Linked DNA regions of Homo sapiens: region 1 is linked to region 2. The links are contacts of gene promoters, found by promoter capture Hi-C in blood cells and fetal thymus (Javierre and others, 2016). All regions are on one chromosome and are shown on one strand. The core of a region is centred on a gene start or on the middle of the fragment in contact, and the rest is flanking DNA. Distances in the headings are between cores, read along the strand shown. Region 1 overlaps CHTOP (chromatin target of PRMT1). Region 2 holds the start of S100A7A (S100 calcium binding protein A7A).

Region 1 (5,870 bases), core at 2,699-5,198, 230 kb before region 2:
CTGTTCCAAAAAAAAAAAAAAAATTCCAGAGGAAAGCTTTAGGACTTTCTGAAGGAACCCCTTCCCCCATCTCCTCATGGATGTGTTTAAATCTTCAGCTGATAATCACCTTACACTAAAGGGTAAGAAACAAAATCGCCAGGCGTGGTGGCTCACGCCTGTAATCCCGGCACTTTGGGAGGCCGAAGCAGATGGATCACGAGGTCAGGAGATCGATACCATCCTAGCCAACATGGTGAAACCTCGTCTCTACTAAAAATACAAAAATTAGCTGGGTGTGGTGGCGCATGCCTGTAATCCCAGCTACTCAGGAGGCTGAGGCAGAATTGCTTGAACCAGGGAGTTGGAGTTTTCAGTGAGCCAAGATTGCACCACTGCATTCCAGCCAGGCAACAGAGCGAGACTCCATCTCAAAAAACAAAACAAAACAAAAAAACAAACCAAGACTAAATGGAGCATTTAGTGAATCCTTTAAAGAGACCTCATGGGGATCTTAGCTGTCCCAGGCTGCCCACACAATGAGGCCTATGACTGGGGGCTGCTGCCACCATTAAGGGTCCCAGAGCTGTCCAGGGCCTGTCTCCACCTTCAAGAGTCATCCTGCCCTGCTTCACAATGCTCCCCTCTCCTTCCTTCCTTGCCCCTGGTACAGGTGGTCAGCCAGGGTCCCCAGCACGTCTGACTGGGTCACTAGCCAGGGTGTGACGCAGGTGGGAGAGCCCACCGAGGCATAAGTGGGAGCCTCTACCCTAACCCCTGCTGGGTCCATGGAGCTATCTATTCATAGCAGCAGGACCACCTTTTTTTTTTCGAGATGGAGTTTCACTCTTGTTGCCCAGGCTGGAGTGCAATGGCGCCATCTCGGCTCACTGCAACCTCCGCCTCCCGGGTTCAAGTGATTCTTCTGTCTCAGCCTCCCGAGTAGCTGGGATTACAGGCATGTGCCACCACGCCCAGCTTATTTCATATTTTTAGTAGATACGGGGTTTCTCCATGTTGGTCAGGCTGGTCTCAAACTCCCGACCTCAGGTGATCTACCCGCCTCGGCCTCCCAAAGTGCTGGGATTACAGGCGTAAGCCACTGTGCCCAGCCTCAGGTGTTCTTTTAGCACTGTACCTTTACACTTGGTTCCCTCTGCTTGGTGTATTTTCTCTACTTTCCCTTGTCTTAAAAGATCCAGCTCATCAACCTCTTCCCTATGCTCCTAATGTTACCCTTACAAAGGATGCCTTGTGTTGGTATGGCAAGCCCTCAGCACATGGCAGCTGAATGAAAGGCTGACCCAGAGGAGGTCAGGTTTACTCACCTTGTCCCACACGACCAGTGACTGAGGATGACAGGGACACAGGCCTCAGGAGACCCTGGGAACTGTAGTGAGCAGTAGGTGGGGCTGGAGGACCCTTGGCTGATAGGAGAGTTCCCTGTGCCCCACATAAGCGATTTGGGGATAAATTCTTTCAATGAAGTAGGAAGGACATGGAGGTAGAAGGAAGGAAGCCTAGGCTACGGCAGTCACCTCCTTTATAGAGAACTCTTAAGCATCAGTCTCCTCTGGGGTAGGAGGGAGCCTGGCATTTTGCACTTGTTTGGGTTGTTGGGGAGGTTGGCTGGGAGGGGAAGTCCTCATGCTTTAGCACTGGAAAAGGCAGAAGGAGCTGAACTGGGGATTCAGTTCTGCAGTCACCGTCCAACCTGTAGCCTTCTGCTAGACCCCCACTGCCCATCTCCCTTGGGACCTACAGACACCCCACATCACAGGATTCAAGTTTGGGTTGTCCTGACCAAAATTTCCTTCCCAGCCCCCAGTAAGTACAACCTCCTGGCAGTTTAGGGTGAAAGGCAGCCCAATGACAACTGGCTTGGCTGGGCGCTACTAGGTTCTTTTCTCTTCAGCTCTCAACATAGGGAAAAAGGGAAATATGTGCCAGGGCCCAAGGGCCCAGAATGTTGCCCAAGACAATCTTCCTTGAGTTTTTGTGGGCGTGGTGTTATTTCTGCAGAGCTCAGAGGAAGTCAAATTCTTCACTTTCTGCTCAAAGCCACAGGCTCTCCAGAATTTTAACACAAGTAAGAAGAAAGAAACTCTCAACCATACAAGGGGTATATCAAGACATCATTAAAGTGGCTGGGTGCAGTGGGTCACGCCTGTAATCCCTGCACTTTGGGAGGCTGAAAGTGGGTCACGCCTGTAATCCCTGCATTTTGGGAGGCTGAAGCGGGTGGATCACCAAGTCAAGAGATCAAGACCATCCTGGCCAACATGGTGAAACCCCATCTCTACTAAAAATACAAAAATTAGCTGGGTGTGGTGGCACATGTCTGTAGTCACAGCCACCCGGGAGGCTGAGGCAGGAGAATCGCTTGAACCAGAGAGTTGGAGGTTGCAGAGCCAAGATCGCGCCACTGCACTCCAGCCTGGTGACAGGAGCGAGACTCGGTCACAAGAAAAAAAAAAAAAAACATCATTAAAGTAGCCATGGCATTTTGAGGCACCTCAAATAAAGAGAGTCCTGGGTGGATTTAAGCGAACAGTTTGTTATAATGAACCAGAAATACAAGATTCCACTGAAACTGAACAGTTGACAGAATATGGTTGAACTTAAACCTTCAAGGGAAACAAGGGCAAAACAAAGCTAATGAGTGGAAAAGTCCAAGATTAGTTTGGGATAAACATGAGGATATAATTGCATTTTAGCATGGCTATCTTCTGACCTCTTCCAGCAGTTCGTCTGCCATCATTCTCCCTTCTGACACACCTACCAAATCAAATGGCTTCTGATCCTCTATATTGCAGTATAAACCAACCCTATAGTACCCCTCTGGTCATGATACAAACCCAGAAGGAAAGTCTGTAAATCTCATACAAAGGTAGAAAGTGCAATTCAACCCAACACGCTGGTTATGGTATATGTGCTGTCAATGTACATGGTAGCAACTTGAATCAAACCAGAGCTGCTACCACATGTAAGCAACCTCTTATGCTGCCCTGTAGTGATGTCAATGTTCTCAGTTTACTAAATTATCAATGTGGAAGAACGCATTTTTGAGCTCCAGACCTTCTAAACATTTTAAACAGGCTATCGAAGAGGATGTAACAGAACCCTATTTCAGAAACCTAAGGATCAGGGAGGAAGGAACACTGACCGGTTTTTCTGGGATGTTTCTGTGGGGGCAACAGGGATGAACAAAAGAAATGTTAGCATGTCAGAGCATATGACAAGTGAGGGGAGACAGAGGTAGGAAGAGGGTGTTCTAGCCACAAGGCTAATGCATTTGTGTTCAAAGAGAAGTCTGGGCAAAGGAGGGGAAACCCCCCCTCCCCCCTAAAAAAACAAAAACAAAAAACCAAATCAAAGGACAAAAGGGTTTCATACAACACAGTATCAAAAAGTAAAAGGAACACACTAAATGCACAAGCTGGTGGCAAGTAAGTCCACAGCCTATTGTGATAGGTCCATCCAGCATCAATCAGATTTCTTCTCATCTGTTATCTCAAGGTTATTTACAGATGTGTTGACTAACAAGAGTCTCTCATGGGAGGATGGGCAGGCTTCAATCATTGGTTTCGGGATCTGTCTGCGCCATGTAGGCATCCAACTCAGCATCCAGGTGTCCTTTTGTTTTCGACATATATGCATCCAATTGGTTGTCCAGCTGCTCCTTGGTCAATACAGGGCGAGCAAGGGCACCTCTCCCTCGTCCACGGCCTCGGCCTCGGCCTCCAAAGCCCCCTCTTCCCCGACCTATCATACCCCGACCTGGCCCAAAGGGGAAAAAAAAAAAAAAAGAGACAGTTACAAGTAAGTTTAATAGGTGCTGTAGTAAATGCCCCTTAGAGCAGTGGGGCCTAGCTGAGAAAAGCTGAAGGGCAGGGCAAAGAGGAGAAATCTGGAAAAAAAGGAAACACAATGGGTAGAAAGCAACACATGGAAAGCACACATAATGAATCCTCTATCACATGATCATCTCTAAATGCTATTTTAACAAATTTTATTCTATCAATAAAGGAAAATAATTAACTGGCAACTATAATTTTAAAAAACCTTAATCAATCCTAAGATAAAATTACCTAACATTTGAGATTCACTAAGTTCATAATTAAAATACATGACAGATAACCCCATTTGGTAAGATAGGGAGGTGGTAACAAGAGCACAGAGCATCAGGGGTGTGAAGACAAGACAGTTTTCAAATTAAGTTTATTGGAGACCCTTCTGGAAAGTCATCTCACCTGTCCTTAAACTTATCAAGTCTAATGAGCTAGCTGACCTCATGTGTCAGGAGACTGAGTTTTTCTGACACAGGAACAATGTAGGGGAGATTTGAAAAAATATTTTGAGTTGTCCTAGCTATTTCTACCTTTAATTCTAGTTACCTTATGACAACTGACAATTGTGGTTATCTGAGAAGCAGTGTGAATTCAGTTAACAAAACAAACTCAGCTTTTTGAAAAGCTATTTTAGTCTCTCCCACCCTCGTGATGTCTCTCAGGATCCAAGTCAAGATAATTTGGAAACATGTTATTTCATCCTGAAACCCAAACTAGCTTGCACTTCACTCAGTAAGTATCATATAATGGGAGAGAAGAAAACAAGCCCTTGGTTATCAACTTTTCTTTCCTAACAGTTATTATTCCTTGGCAACTTCAAGGTCATAAGTTATGGAAGACCCAAGACACCTTTTAAGAGAACCAAAGCAAATATACACAGGGGCTTCAATAGTGTTTTTTTTCTGGACAGGTGTTGGGAGTTTTCCACTAAGCTCTAAACCAGAAGGCTCCCATGAGATTTAGTATTAACAGCAGCAACATCATTAAACTCTTTCCCAATCTGGGTCATGAGGTCACAAGACAAACATCAATAAATTTCAAAGGCAAGATTATCAATAAGAGCCAGTTAGTTAACTGATAATAATTCCATCTTGCTCTCTACCTTAAGCAAAAAAAGTCATCTCTGGTTCTCCACAGGCACCAAATGTGACATTGAATTTATTTGGTTTCAGAGCCAATGCCCAGCTCCAAGTCTCACCACCCTCTTAACTCTACTTCATCTTTGTATCTCTCTCTCTCTTCTATATTCTCATGTGACTCAAACCAGGATTTGGAGCTACAGGGTGGTATGTGGTGGTGATGGTGGTGGGACAGGGGCAGAGAAAGGCAAAACCCTAAACTGACCATTTTGGGGGGTATTTTCAACTATACAATTTAAATTTGCAAGAGCTTGGAGGAAGATGGCATATAATCTGGCTCTATAATATGCACTTGATTGATTCTTGGAAAAATCATGAGACTTTTGCACTACCAGCATGGTAATTTGAAAAATAAGCCAGTTTCAAATAACAAAACAAGACAAACAAAGAAGCCTGCCTATGACTTGAAGCTGTGCAGAAAGGTGGCTCTGAGTTTTTAAGGGAGGAAAGTAAGGGGGAGCTACTCTCTGAAGTTGGTAGCTGACTAACCTCTACCACCGATTCCGCCACGACCCATAGCTCCACGCCCTAGGCCCCCTCTCCCAGGACCTCCACGACCTCGAACACCACCTCTTCTTAAGCCCATTCGGGGAGCTACGGCTCGTCCACCTCGGAGCAGGTTTTGACCTTAGAGAGGAGGCATACAATGTATATGCAGGTAAATCCAAGAGACACAAAGTAGATTCTAACCAAAGGAAGGCGGTGAGGGTTAAATGAAGGTAATTCAGTTAGTTTTTAGGTTGGCTGGGGCAAGCTGCATACTGTGAACAGATTAAGCTACTCTTTATTCAATCAATTCAACAAGTCTGACCACAAATCCATTTTTGGAAGTTGGGAGTTAATTCAATTAGTAAGTACATACATTTAATAAATATCTACTGAATAATCAGATAGATGCCTA
Region 2 (6,320 bases), core at 700-3,199:
CTCAAGCTGCACACTTTGCTGACCATCTAATAACCTCCTTTATATCTGTATAACTCTTTCCCATTTTCATACTTTTTCGCCTACCATCCTTAGATTCACATATGATCCAAGCAATAAAGCCCTATTTGCAAATGGGAAACTTTTTAATCAGAGGATGAGGGTGACCTGTCCAAGGCCACATAGCAAAATGTATCCTCAGCCATGCCAGGGTCCAACCAACATTGAGAAGCTAGACCCCAACTCACACAGGCACTGAGGAAATTGGGGAAGTTCTCCTTCATCATCGTCAGCAGGCTTGGCTTCTCAATCTTGCCATCACGTCCGGTGTATTTGTGAAACATGTCGATCATGCCTATTATGGACCTCTCAGCTTGAGTGTTGCTCATCTTTGCTTTCAAAAAGCCTTCAGGAAATAAAGACAATCATTTCTTACCTTAGTTTGAATTAAGGTCTCTATGTGGGGGTGTTAGAAGGAGGGCTGAGGACAGAGTAAAAACAGCCCTAAGATGGAGCAGAAGGAACTTGATTTTTTTAAATGTGATGGGATAAGTTGTTCAAAAATGAGAGGGTAGGACCAAGTCTGAGACCCGGCCCATCCTGGCCAGGGCCAAGAAGAGATGCAGGTGGATGGCAGAAGTCCAGCTGTGGACAGTGCTTCAGAGAAGGAGAAGCAGGGAGAGTCGGAGGCCAGCAACACATAGAAGAACTAAGCTGGGACCCCCCAGCCTCAACCAGCACATGGCGGACCCCACTCTTGAAACAGCACCAAATCCATCTCCTCCAGCTTCACAGTCGGGGTGAGAGTCACGGGGGCAGGACAATGGCCTTGGTGATCTGGTGTCTGACCCTCCTCGGCTGCTTCAGGAACCAGACACCGTGGGCCCCACCTTGACTCAAGTGCAAGCCCTGCATGACACAGTGCGTGCAGGCTCCAGGTGCACATGTGAGCGTGGACATGAGTGTGAGCAGGAAACACAGCCCTCTCCCGAGGACAGGGGGCCCTTCCTACATTCCCTTGGGAATGAGAAACAAGAATTGCCTCTGTTACAAGGAACAGAAATAACTCCCTGGTTCTTAAGCTGCTGGATGGGGTGGGAGTGAGGTGGGAGTCGCTTCATGTCTGCTCTTGGGAAATATCTGCACCCTCTGAATCACCAAGGGTTGACCCTGTTTAAATAAAAATGTCTGACTTTCCAAAGCAGATCTTCCAGCCAGTAGCCAGCCTGGGCTGCCCTGCACCCCAAGCCTGAAAAATAAGACAGTGCAGCTCTCATTTCTACACTTTCCAAAGAACCAGAAAAGGACCTTGGCTAACGCATGTGGGCATCTGACAATAAACCCCCAACACCTCTCAACGCAGGAGAAAGCTCCGTGCCAGCAACTGACTAAGAGAAGCCACTCAAAGCTTTCTGAATCTGAGGCCAAGGCCAAGGCCAGAGGCCAAGCCCTGTGCCCAGAGATTGACTGAGAATTTACAGGTCCAAGGCCTGGGGGTTTGGAGAGCCTCCAAAGCATTCACAGGGGATCCTTATCCCTCCTCCCTCTGTGGGGGCAGAGCTGGGGAGGGGATTCAGCAACTGGGATCCCAAAAGGAGAATGAATCCAGGGAGGAAGAAGACAGGAAGGAAAGGGAGGGTCCTGTGCTCAGGTCCCACTGGGGACATTTCCACAGGAGTTGTCTCAGGAGATCCCAAAGGAGCAATGGACAGGTCTGGTTCAGCCACCTGGTTGTACAGACGTGGGCTTTTGGGGTCAAGTGAAGGTCACACAGCCCAGCTAATGGCAGAGCTGGCCTAGACCCAGGCTTCTGAGACTTTGTCCACAGCCCTTTCCCTTCCTACAGGCAGCATGGCAGGCTGGGCACTGGGCACTTCTAGAAAATGCAAAGAGGCAGGTGAGACTTACCAGAACTGGGAAGTGTCACGAGTAGAAGGATGAGTGAGATGTGTGTGTTTGGACAAAGAGCAGTCCTTTATAAGGCTCAGCCTGGCTCTTCCCACGGGTTGGGAGGCCTGGGGCCACCTCTGTCATCTGTTTCTTGGAGGCTTGTCCCATATCAGGTGTGTGGGACACACCCAGGAGGCTGTGCTCAGGATTTCTGGCCAGGGTCCCAGGTCACCAGGTCCCACCCCACCCCAGAGACCTCACCTGGGGCCTTCTCTGGCTCAATCTTGATTTGAGGGTAAGGCAGCGGTACATGTGTAGTAACAGGTCAGGAAATGGGAGAAAAGAGCACTGGGCCTCTGGACCCAAAGAGAATGGAGTTTCAGACTCCCAAAGGCAGCATGGTCTTGTTTATTCCCTCCCCCAGTACTTCCACACATTTGTTGTGACAGCCTGTTCTATGACCCCCACCGCTTACTGAGCGTTTTAATGTCTAGACATCAAGACACCTGCTGCTCTTGCATCCTCCTCAACCCTCCCCTCATAGTCTTAAGAAGCAGGTGCTGCAATCTCTATTTTAGGAAAGGAGAAGTTGAGATGTTCCCAAGTTTACTCAGCTAGTAAACACAACAAATCATCACACGAACAAAGAAAAGCCTGAATCAAATCCTTACTCTTATCCCCTGTGCTATAGGTCTTGGGTTGCATCAGGGTCTGCCCTATGGGAACTCAAAGTCCAGGGAGGGAAGCAGGATTACTTCATTGCTAACCATTGGTCAGCCCCTCACAGAAGCCCTGGATTTAGGTGGGGGGACTGGGGTCAGGGGCCTCACTATCTAGGTTGAGTGGTGGAGTGACCCCCGCCCCCCCCGCCCCATGGAATGAGCCTGGAGGTAGGGAGTGGGAAAAGTTCTTTCCTGCCCCATGGCACTAACTTCCCAGAAAGTCTTCAGTGTTTTTCCTCCTCCTATGCAAAACAGCCTGTGTAGGAGTTGGGAGTTGTGCCCTTGGCTATAATGTGCCCTAACCTGCTGTGGAAAGCCTGAACCAGGTAGGGGCAAGAGGGTTGGGAAGGCACAGGAGTCCCTGGGGCATGGTGAGGAAAAGGAGATGATGAATCACTGAAATGGACTTTTTCTGCTACCCCCTTACAATGTTCCTTGTAGGCCGCAAGAGGTCCTGGTTCATTTAGTGCCAGCCCTTTAAGCACTCTGGGGCTCCATAGAGCTGATGTGATGTCTCCCTAGGTGGGACCTATTTTCTCCACCCATCATCTTTCTTCAACTTCCTTCTCTGTCAGTTCTTATGTAACCAGGGGGACCTGTTTCTCCCTCTCCCAGTTTCCCATATGACGGCAATATTACTTTTAGCGGCAAAAGATACACACACACACACACACGCACACACACACAAACACACACACAAACGCACACATACACACACACACAGACGAATACTACTCAACCATAAAAAGAATGAAATGATGACTTTTGCAGCAACATGGATGGAACTGGAGGCTATTATCTTAAGTGAAATTACTCAGAAAAAGAAAGTCAAACACTGTGCACCCTCATGTGTAAGTGGGAGGTACATCATGCATACAGATGGAGGTAGAGAGAGAGTAGAATCATAGACACTGGAGACAGTGAAGAGCAGGAGGTCAGGTGGTGGGTGAAGGAGGAGACATTTCTTAGTGGGTACAATGCGTGTTATTTAGGATGGCTGCATTAAAAGCCCGGACTTCACCACTGTGCAATGTGTTCATATACATGTGTATGCAGGTTTTTGTGTGGACATAAGCTTTCAGTTCTTTTGGGTAAATCCCGAAGAGTGTGATTTCTGGATCCTATGGTAAGAGTATGTTTAGTTTTTTAAGAAAGCACCAAACTGTCTTCCCAAGTGGCTGTACTATTTTGTGTTCCTGCCATCAATGAATGAGAGTTCCTGTTGCTCCACATCCTTCTTTAGCATTTGGTGCTGTCAGTGTTCCAGATTTTGGGCATTCTCATAAGTGTGTACTGGTATCTCATTGTTGTTTTAATTTGCATTTCCTTGAGGACATATGATGTGGAGCATCAGCTGATATGCTTATTTGTCACCTTCTGTATCTTCTTTGATGAGATGTCTGTTAAGGTCTTTGGCCCATTTTCTAATTGTTTGGTTTGTGTTCTTATCTCTGAGTTTTAAGAGTTCTTTGTACGTTTTGGATAACATACAAAGTCTGATATGTCTTTTGTAAATATTTTCTCCCAGTCTGTGGCTTATCTTTTCATTCTCTTGACAATATCTTTCACAAAGCAGAAATGTTAAATTTTAAAGAAGTCCAGCTTATGAATTATTTCTTTCATGGATTGTGCCTTGGTGTTGCATCTAAAAAGTCATCACCAAAACCAAGATGATCAAATTTCCTCTTATGCTACCATCTAGGAGTTTTGTAATATTATGTTTTGCATGTAGGTCTATGATTCATTTTGAGTTACATATCATCACTGTTTATAAAAAAAAGGAACAGAAGAAATGCAATACAAAAGGAATCAGGGACAACAATATTAATACAAGACAACAAAGAATTCTAAGAAAAGGGATTAAATGAAAAAGAAGAATATTTCCTATTGATTAGTGTGCAAGTCACCAAGATGCAATAGTCTTATCTTTTTTTTCTTTCTTGTTTTTTCTTTTTTATGAGACACACTTTTGCTCTTGCAGCCCAGGTTAGAGTGCAGTGGTGTCATCTTGGCTCGCTGCAATCTCCTCCTCCTAGGTTCAAGCGATTCTCCTGCCTCGGCCTTCTGAGTAGCTGGGATTATAGGCGCCTGCCACTATATCCAGCTAATTTTTGTATTTTTAATAGAAATGGGGTTTCATCATGTTGGCCGGGCTGGTCTCGAACTCCTGACCTCAAGCGATCCACTCATCTCGGCCTCCCAAAGTGCTGGGATTACAGTTGTGAGCCACTGCACCTGGCAATAGTCTTATCCTTATATACACAAGAACATAATATTGAATTATACAAAGCAAACATTGAAATAAATTAATGAAAACTGACAAATTTATATCACTTGGCAGTTTCTGGCAGAGTCTGCCCAGGAACTCAACAGAGTCGTCAGATAACAAAACACCAGTAATGGTGCAGAGCAGGGCGGGCAGATGCTGCCACAGCCCAGAAGCAGCCCTGGACATAAGGGCCCCGTGGATGAAGACAGCTGTTTCTAGTAAACACTAATCTCCAGAATTGGTTGGCCAGCTGGATTTGGCTTTAAGACCATAATTTGCTGATTCCTGATACAAAATATTTGAAGGACACACTTAAATTTATTTATATACACGTGCATTCATAAATTTGTGCCTGACCATAGAGAATACATATAAATTTCTTTTTTTGTATTGAGGTTCTTTATTAAATTAATTATATAATCTGTATTAGATAATTAACGTTTTTACAAAAATTATTATTATACTTTCAGTTCTAGGGTACATGTGCACAGCGTGCAGTCTTGTTACATATGTATACATGTGCCATGTTGGTGTGCTGCACCCATTAACTCGTCATTTACATTAGGTATATCTCCTAATGCTATCTCTCCCCGCTGCCCCAACCTCACGACAGGCCCTGATGTGTGATGTTCCCCTTCTTGTGTCCAGGTGTTCTCATTGTTCAATTCCCACCTATGAGTGAGAACATGTGATGTTTGGTTTTCTATCCTTGCGATAGTCTGCTGAGAATGATGGTTTCCAGCTTCATCCGTGTCCCTACAAAGGACATGAACTCATCCTTTTTTATGGCTGCATAGTATTCCATGGTGTATATGTGCCACATTTTCTTAATCCAGTCTATCATTGATGGACATTTGGGTTGGTTCCAAGTCTTTGCTATTGTGAATAGTGCTGCAATAAACATACGTGTGCATGTGTCTTTATAGCAGCATGATTTATAATCCCTTGGGTATATACCCAGTAATATGATGGCTGGGTCATATAATGGTATTTCTAGTTCTAGATCCTTGAGGAATCGCCACACTGTCTTCCACAATGGTTGAACTAGTTTACAGTCCCACCAACAGTGTAAAACTGTTCCTATTTCTCCACATCCTCCCCAGCATCTGTTGTTTCCTGACTTTTTAATGATCGCCATTCTAACTGGTGTGAGATGGTATCTCATTGTAGTTTTGATTTGCATTTCTCTGATGGCCAGTGATGAGCATTTTTTCATGTGTCTTTTGGCTGCATAAATGTCATCTTTTGAGAAGTGTCTGTTCATATCCTTTGCCCACTTTTTGATGGGGTTGTTTGTTTTTTTCTTGTAAATTTGTTTGAGTTCATTGTAGATTCTGGATATTAGCCCTTCGTCAGATGAGTAGGTTGCAAAAATTTTCTCCCATTCTGTAGGTTGCCTGTTCACTCTGATGGTAGTTTCTTTTGCTATGCAGAAGCTCTTT

The links. Contacts are between HindIII fragments. The CHiCAGO score rates a contact against its expected background, and 5 or more counts as called.
Region 1: a contact is called between a fragment that was not itself captured here and the fragment with the promoter of S100A7A in region 2, in 1 of 17 cell types (neutrophils). The highest score is 7.4, in neutrophils.

What each region holds. Positions count from the first base shown.
Region 1 is chr1:153,642,953-153,648,822 of GRCh38, reverse strand. CHTOP (chromatin target of PRMT1) reads right to left here. Exons shown (of 6, transcript NM_015607.4): 5 at 5,459-5,596; 6 at 2,517-3,759. The coding sequence ends at 3,554. Among named protein-coding and RNA genes, the nearest start is that of CHTOP, 12 kb to the right of the region's middle. The HindIII fragment of the contact is 7,820 bases long and covers 39-5,870 here.
Region 2 is chr1:153,412,149-153,418,468 of GRCh38, reverse strand. It overlaps S100A7A (S100 calcium binding protein A7A), which reads right to left and starts at 1,949. Exons shown (of 3, transcript NM_176823.4): 1 at 1,906-1,949; 2 at 246-403. The coding sequence starts at 386. It also overlaps a transcript of S100A8 not described here. The HindIII fragment of the contact is 2,279 bases long and covers 1,408-3,686 here.